Linked DNA regions of Homo sapiens: all the other regions are linked to region 1. The links are contacts of gene promoters, found by promoter capture Hi-C in blood cells and fetal thymus (Javierre and others, 2016). All regions are on one chromosome and are shown on one strand. Each heading gives the region's core, a stretch centred on a gene start or on the middle of the fragment in contact. The rest is flanking DNA. Distances are from core to core; before and after follow the strand shown. Region 1 holds the start of GNS (glucosamine (N-acetyl)-6-sulfatase). Region 2 overlaps XPOT (exportin for tRNA). Region 3 overlaps TBK1 (TANK binding kinase 1).

Region 1 (2,582 bases), core at 30-2,529:
CAAACAGTTCAACTCAGAGAAAATACTTTTACCAGCAAGGAGGTATACCTTGTTATATCGGTCTGGGGATGTGACTTGACAGTTCACCTTGCCAGGAATATCTCTGTGATTTTTTGTTTGTTTGTTTGTTTTGAGACAAGAGTCTCGCTCTGTCCCTGAGGCCAGAGTGCAGTGGCTCACTGCAAGCTCCGCCTCCCGGGTTCAAGCGATTCTCATGCCTCAGCCTCCCGAGTAGCTGGGATTACAGGCGCCTGCCACCACGCCCAGCTAATTTTTGTATTTTAGTAGAGACGGGGTTTCCCCACGTTGGCCAGGCTGGTCTAAAACTCCTGACCTCAGGTGATCCACCCGCCTCCCAAAGTGCTGGGATTACAAGCGTGAGCCACCGCGCCCACGGTGGGCGGTGAGAGGAGAGGGGCAAAGTCTAATTATTCCAGAGCGACCACAGAAATATCTGGAGCTAGTTTCAAGGGCTATTCCCCGCTAAAGATTACTTAATAATGCAGTTGGATGACCACGTTTCAAGATTTTTGTTCGATCTGCACATCCTCCAACATGTTCCAAGAGGGTGTTTAAAAAGTCACCAAGGACCATTAGGATAACCATTAGGATAAAGCTGTCAGGACATCCCTAAATTGTTTGAAACTACGATGTCTGCTGAGGAAAGAAGAACATAATTAGGCTTTGGAGTTAAGAGAGCTAACCAGTTCCGAATTTAATGTCTGAGCCAAATGAGAATGTTAAGATTTATCTCACAAGTTGTAGAGAAAATTAAAAACGATTAAACATCCGGGCCTTGAATAAGTGCCCGTCGACTTGGGGATTAAATATGGTAGAGTCCACTTTCCTCACCAGCTGATGATAATTTCTGTTATGTACAGTCCTCCTTTCTCTTCCTTTATCGGTTGGTTAGTATTTGCCAACTCTTTCCTGCTTTTCATCTTCTCTTCCCCCCATTTAAATCTTTCCACCAAGCGCTCAGAAACACGTACGTCCTACCAGAACGCAACCCGAGCCTGCGCGAGAGGTACGTACAGGTCTTGACCTTTTCCCGGTTCTCCGCCCTTTTCCCGGTTCTCCGCCCTTTTCTCCGGTTCTCCGCCCTTTTCTCCGGTTCTCCGCCCTTTTCTCCGGTTCTCCGCCCCTTTTCCGCCACTGCCTGATGCCTCCCTCCAGGCTGCGCCAGTCCGCAGCCCCGCCCACGCCGGCCGTCACGTGACCGCGCAGCGTGCTCCGCCCCCTGTCCCTGGCTCACGTGATCGCGCCTAGGGAGAAAACGTCTGACTCCAGCCACCGGCCTTCAAGGCACGGCTTTTTATTCCTTCGGCTGGTCGGCCTCTCGCCCTTCAGCTACCTGTGCGTCCCTCCGTCCCGTCCCGTCCCGGGGTCACCCCGGAGCCTGTCCGCTATGCGGCTCCTGCCTCTAGCCCCAGGTCGGCTCCGGCGGGGCAGCCCCCGCCACCTGCCCTCCTGCAGCCCAGCGCTGCTACTGCTGGTGCTGGGCGGCTGCCTGGGGGTCTTCGGGGTGGCTGCGGGAACCCGGAGGCCCAACGTGGTGCTGCTCCTCACGGACGACCAGGACGAAGTGCTCGGCGGCATGGTAACTCTTCTGTTTCTGCCCCGCCCCTCTATCTCTTGGGCTGACTACCCGGTTTGTTGCTCTCTTTCCCGGTCCCCACCACCCTCCTCCCCGAACTGGCTGTCTTATCCTTGGGTAGGTTTGGTTTTCCCACCTGAGGCCCTTTATGCCGGTGTAAGGGACTGCAATACTCTTTTCCTTTCTGGATTGAGGCACATGCGTACAGCACACAGAGCTTCTAGTCTGGACCGTACTGCTGTGGAGTTTACGTTAATATCTCAAGATAAACATGTGGAGACCAGTGGAGGATGGGTTGAACCAATGAGGATCAGGTGCTGTCTAAGAGCACTCAAGGCCTGATTGTTTTTCTTTTGGATTAGAGGATCACAGACAAGTCCAGTCCCCTTTATGAGGGACCTAGACCACCTCCACGTTTGTGCCTGTATACAATGTCTGTATCTGATGTCAATAAAAATAAGCCTGGGCCGGGCGCGGTGTGTCACTCATGTAATCCCAGCACTTTGGGAGGCCGAGGCGGGCGGATCAGAAGGTCAAGAGATCGAGACCATCCTGGCCAACATGGTGAAACCCCGTCTCTACTAGAAATACAATAATTCTAGCTGGGCGTGGTGGCGCGCAGCTGTAGTCCCAGCTACTTGGGAGGCTGAGGAAGGAGAATCGCTTGAACCCGGGAGGCAGCAGTTGCAGTGAGCCGAGATCGCGCCACTGCATTCCAGCCTGGCGACAGAGCGAGACTCCGTCTCCAAAAAAAAAAAAAAAAAAAAAAAAAAAAAAAGGCCTGAAGTGAACTAATCTGGTAGGCCGACCGTCGAACTATTGAGGGTGTGTGTTGCCTCACAAGAATCAAGAAAATTCAATTAGTGTGATTGAACACCTGACTGTTGCATTAGAGACTGTCAGTGTTTCATTTTCTATCTAATGGGTGTTGTCACAAGACTTCATTTTTTTTCCAGAGTAAATTTTGCTTGTGTATTGCAGAATT
Region 2 (2,582 bases), core at 47-2,546, 340 kb after region 1:
CCAGAGTACTTACTAGTACACATGGAATGTGCTGAGGTTCAACTGTGAAAAACTTTTCATATCTAACAACAGTTTCGAAGAACTCCAATGTCACAGATGTATGCTGATAGGAACTGACTCCTGATGTTACCAGCTAGATCAGGAAAAAGTTAGGAAACCTCTTCTTATTTATTGCAACATCAAAATGCCCCGGTATTAACATATACTAAGCTCTAACAATTAAGGAACTCCCATTAGCTTATACTGAAAACAGAAATTTATGGTCAAAATTATCTCCAGTATACTTACAGTTCGCATCATATCCTGCAAAGCACTAGCTTTTGAAACATCACCTGAGAAGTGAGCACCATGAGATACTGGAAGAGCTTCTGCCAACATATACAGCAATCTTATTGCTACTTCAACTTCCATAAACCGTGTAGTCTGCCAATTCCTACCAAGGTATAATATGTCAGTGAGATTTAAAGATAAATTTTTCATACAGCAAATTATGCACAGGGTAAGACACCAACAAAAGCCTTTTTAATTATTAAAAAGTCATAGCAACTGTTAACTTTCCCAGGCAATACATCACAAAGGTAGAAAGGATCAAGATAAATCAAGAAGACAAGTGCATTGTTTCCAGAGATACACATAAGATCTCAATAAGTAACATGGATTAATAAGTCATATGAATCATTTATTTTGACCCATATCAAAGAGCAAAAGAAAGAAGTAGGCTTGTTACAAAAGTAATGACAAACTTACTGCAGTGTAGAACTAAAAACTCTGCGAACAGAGGCCAGTAGTAACTCTGGTGAAACTTGAGCAAGCCTGTCCAACAGTAACTTCAGTTGTTTTCTATATTCTACAAACATGGCTTCATCTTCACCCTATGATACAGGTTAAAATCCTCATTCAAAAAACTTATGGGTTGATCGGCGCAGCAAACCACCATGGCTACATGTATACCTATGTAACAAACCTGCACGTTCTGCACATGTACCCCAAAACTTAAAGTATAATAATAAAAATTAAAAACTTAAAAGACCTTAAAATTCATGTAAATATCCAGTTCTCCTGTATTTTTCCGCATTTACATATTTCGTACTTTTATTTTTGTCACTATTTATATAGAAAAACTTATTAAGCTTAATAACTTCTTCCCTCCAGCTCACAAATAAGTATTTCTGCACAAAGCCGTAGACCTCAAAAGCCTAGAGCTAGAAATAGTCTAAGAAGGTTAAAGACAATACTCTAGCACTAGAATGGGCTTTGAATTCTTTGCACCTTATTTATTCTTGTAAGTCAATATCCACTGTAAAAAGTGGTAATAATATGGTATAACTGGAGATATTCAATCTTAGGAGCCTGGCACATCCCAGGTGCGCAGTGTGTTGGTCAGCACCACTATTATCCTTTTACAACCCTAAGTTTTTGAATGTCTGAGGTGGGGGAATACAACACTTTAGAACAAAGCTTAGCAGCAAATACCATGACTGAATACCTAGAAAGCACCAATGGCCCTTGTTTGATGGGAAGCTGACCCACTCACAATCTTGAAAAAGACCTTTAACTGGAACAAGTCTAGAGCGCCTCATTTCCACTCTGCCAATACAGTCTTGTGACTGGAGTTCATCATTCTTACAAAATATAAAGTGAAATATGATCACCAATAATATTATCAATATTTTACTATGTTCAGTGCTACACAGTATTTGTAAAAGGGCTGTTAATGGGACAGGTGCAGTGGCTCACACCTATAATCCCAACACTTTGGGAGGCTGAGGCAGGCAGATCACTTGAGGCCAGGAGTTCAAGACCAACTTGGCCAACACGGCGAAACCCCGTCTCTACTAAAAATACAAGAATTAGCCGGGCATGGTGGCACATGCCTGTAATCCCAGCTACTAAGGTGGCTGAGGCACAAGAATCACTTGAACCCAGGAGGCAGAGGATGCAGTGAGCTGAGATGGCACCACTGCACTCCAGCCTGGGTGACAGAGTGAGACTCTGTCTCAAAGCAAAAAAAAAGGAGGGGGGGTGGTTGTTAATGGATAAAATATCAAAAAGGAAGGATTAAGAGGCTTCTATTAATTTCACCCAAGGTTGGTGTCAATATAAACAGACTAATTTTTCAAGAACTTCATGTTTTAAAGGGCCCCGAAACAATAAGAACTTGAAATATTAATTTGATATAATAATAAAATTAAAACTCCTTTCTCCTCAACAAAAAAAAATTCTTACCTCATTTTCAAAGTTATATTCTTCATCGTAAGTCAATTTTTTCATAACGGCCAACATGATTGCCTAAGAATAAAATTGAGAATAAAAGAGTTTTTGTCAGTCTCCTTCTAATTTGATATAATTTGAAATTAAGCTACATTTCAAGGCAAATTACAGACTAAAAATCTATCATTGGTTTAAAAGAAGCATAAAGTCAATTACCTCTACATTAGCTTTTTGCTGATCCGAGAGCACTGTAAGCTGTTAAAAAGGAAGCAATAACTTATTAGGTTTTCTAAAGTTATACCTGCATATCAGAACATTTTTCGAATCAATTAAGACCTGGTTTTTTTTTTTTTTTTTGAGACAAGGTCTTG
Region 3 (2,582 bases), core at 83-2,582, 270 kb after region 1:
AATAAAAACCATTAAACTGTATGCTTAAATGCATGAGTTATATAGTATATGAATTATATCTCAATGTTGTGAAGGCTGGGTGTGGCTCATGCCTATAATCCCAGCTGAGGCGGGCTGATTGCCTGAGCCCAAGAGTTTGAGACCAGCCTGGGCAACATAACTAGACCCCCCATCACTAAAAAAAAAAAAATTAGCTGGGTGTGGTGGGGCATGCCTATAGTCCCAGGTACTTGGGAAGGTGAGGTGGTAGGATCACTTGAGGCCAGGAGTTTCAGGCTGCAGTGATCTGTGATTGTGCCACTGCACTCCAGCCTGGGTGACAGCGAGACCCTGTCTCAAAAAGAAAAAAAAAAAATACGGTGTGATAAAAAAGGACTGTGTACTTCATTTGGGAAAATGGTAGGAAATTAAGGAAGACTTTGAGGACTTAAATGCTAGAAAGTACAGATTGTACTGAATTCTAACAAGCCAAAGACTTCTAACATAGTTAAATGACAACCAACTACTCAAGGTCCTAGGAAAAGAAATGCATTTGCCGTCACATCCTATAGCGTGGTGTAAGTTTTAAAATTCAGATACTATTTGTTCTGTCTCACAAGGTCATTGTAGGACTCATGAAAAATGAGCTGCTAAATGTTTTATAAACTAAATGTGAAACAAATGTATTATAATAAAAATCAAGCACCTAACCTAACTAGTTTGAAGAGAGAAAATATCAATGATGGGGCAAGGTCTACATGAAAATCAATTTCAAAATTTCAATCTATTACTTACATCAGCCATCGTATCCCCTTTCGCATTAATTCCTGATAAAGCAGTAAGGTACTGGCAATTCTGCAGGCATAACACACAACCCCTGTTATTGCCTAATAAAGAAATAAAATGTCAATATTTGGTGCTAATTGTGGTATAGGGTAAGAAAAACTTTTACACAAAATTATTCAAGCTTACACATTTTTATCAGGTTAATTAAAAACACAATAAACCACCAATTTCTAAGAGTTAAAAATAGATATAAATATAATAAATATGTTATCCTTAACATTATCTAAACATGCACTATCTCAATGGAGAGAATTTTCTTATATAATGAATTCAAGAAAGGATAAAAAGTAAAAAAGAAAGACCACAAAATCACTTGGAAAGGGTATCAATTTAAGTGAATAATTTCCTAAGTCATATAGACATACATGAAGACACAATACATGTTATTGCTTCCACTATTGATAGGATACATTAAATTCAGATGTTTACATAGTAATTAAATTAAATACTAACCTTAGCCATGCTAGCATCCCCGTCTAAATCATAACGTGGATGTACTTTAGGGAGGGAAACTGAAATATGAAGTAAAATAAAATGAGAAAGAAAACTTTTTGAAAAAATCACTTTATCCTTTATAGAGCAAACACAATGTCTAAATTAAACATTAGTGGCAAAATCTGTAATGTAGTTTTCGTGATTAAAAAAACACCACTTCAAACAATAATGCTCATTCTCTAACAAATTACCTCAAATATTTCTAAGGAGTTTCATTTTTTCCTTAAATATACACCAACACAATGAGTCCAATGCTTCTCTTTAAATCTACATCAAATCCCAACCTTCAAATAGAACTGTAAAATTCTGGGTGATCCATTTTTTTTTCTACCAGTAGAATGAGTAATTTAAAAGATTCTAAAAATGCAGATCTAATTTTTCTTAGACTCTAAAGCTTGGCACAATGTTCTATACATACTGCACACAAAAAATATTTGCTGAAATTTATGATATAAAAGGTAATTTTGAGTGTTAGCAAAACACTTTTTAAAGAGAGTTACAGTGAAACGTATGACAAACGATTTTATCGTTTTAGGAAACAAAATATTTGAAGTCAAATCATGTCTACAAGGCTTTTTCAATTTTACAATTACTCTCTTTCAACTATAGTAATTTATAAAATTTTAATATTTATGAAAGCTCTACACTAATATTATCATCAGCTTTATAAGGATGACAATCATTTCTACAATGACAGACTTTGTGGATTTTTTTGTTTTTGAGACAGGGTCCCACACTGTCTCCCAGGCTGGAGTGCAGTGGTGCAATCTCGGCTTACTGCAACCTCTGCCTCTTGGGCTCAAGTGATCCTCCTACCTCAGCCTCCCATGCAGCTGGGACTACAGGTGCAAGCCACCATGCCCCACTAATTTTTGTTTTATTTTTTTGTAGAGACAAGGTCTCACTATGTTGCCCAGGCTGGCTGTATTTTTCTAATGGCTAGTAAGAACGACAAGAAAAATCCCAACTTACTTTTTTCATATATTAATCCTATGGTATTCAGAGGTTCCCGGCTTACTACAAATATAGGGTTTTCCTCAGTAGTTTTAGGGAAATGTTGTGCCAGCCTTCCAGGTTCTAAGACTAAGCGTCGCCCTTCGTAGATAAGTTCTTGATTTGAAGAAATAATTTTGGTTTGTTTATATACCAGTTCATGAAATATAGTAGCACTGTGTGAGAAAAATTCAAAAGGACACTATAACTGGGGATAAAGTGAGAGGCAAAATATTTTAAATGAGTGCAACAACATCCATTTCTAATTC

Evidence for each region. Contacts are between HindIII fragments. The CHiCAGO score rates a contact against its expected background, and 5 or more counts as called.
Region 2: a fragment that was not itself captured here is called in contact with the fragment with the promoter of GNS in region 1 in 3 of 17 cell types (naive CD4 T cells, non-activated CD4 T cells and total CD8 T cells); the score reaches 8.3 in naive CD4 T cells.
Region 3: a contact is called between a fragment that was not itself captured here and the fragment with the promoter of GNS in region 1, in 2 of 17 cell types (total CD8 T cells and non-activated CD4 T cells). The highest score is 5.9, in total CD8 T cells.

Annotation. Positions count from the first base shown.
Region 1 is chr12:64,758,103-64,760,684 of GRCh38, reverse strand. It overlaps GNS (glucosamine (N-acetyl)-6-sulfatase), which reads left to right and starts at 1,279. Exons shown (of 14, transcript NM_002076.4): 1 at 1,279-1,600. The coding sequence starts at 1,409. It also overlaps a transcript of TBC1D30 not described here. RefSeq lists an enhancer at 1,853-2,582. The HindIII fragment of the contact is 13,978 bases long and covers 1-2,582 here.
Region 2 is chr12:64,422,889-64,425,470 of GRCh38, reverse strand. It overlaps XPOT (exportin for tRNA), which reads right to left. Exons shown (of 25, transcript NM_007235.6): 10 at 2,428-2,466; 11 at 2,227-2,289; 12 at 748-872; 13 at 289-433; 14 at 14-133. Among named protein-coding and RNA genes, the nearest start is that of XPOT, 20 kb to the right of the region's middle. The HindIII fragment of the contact is 328 bases long and covers 1,133-1,460 here.
Region 3 is chr12:64,484,210-64,486,791 of GRCh38, reverse strand. TBK1 (TANK binding kinase 1) reads right to left here. Exons shown (of 21, transcript NM_013254.4): 9 at 2,293-2,489; 10 at 1,279-1,337; 11 at 775-866. Among named protein-coding and RNA genes, the nearest start is that of TBK1, 33 kb to the right of the region's middle. The HindIII fragment of the contact is 768 bases long and covers 949-1,716 here.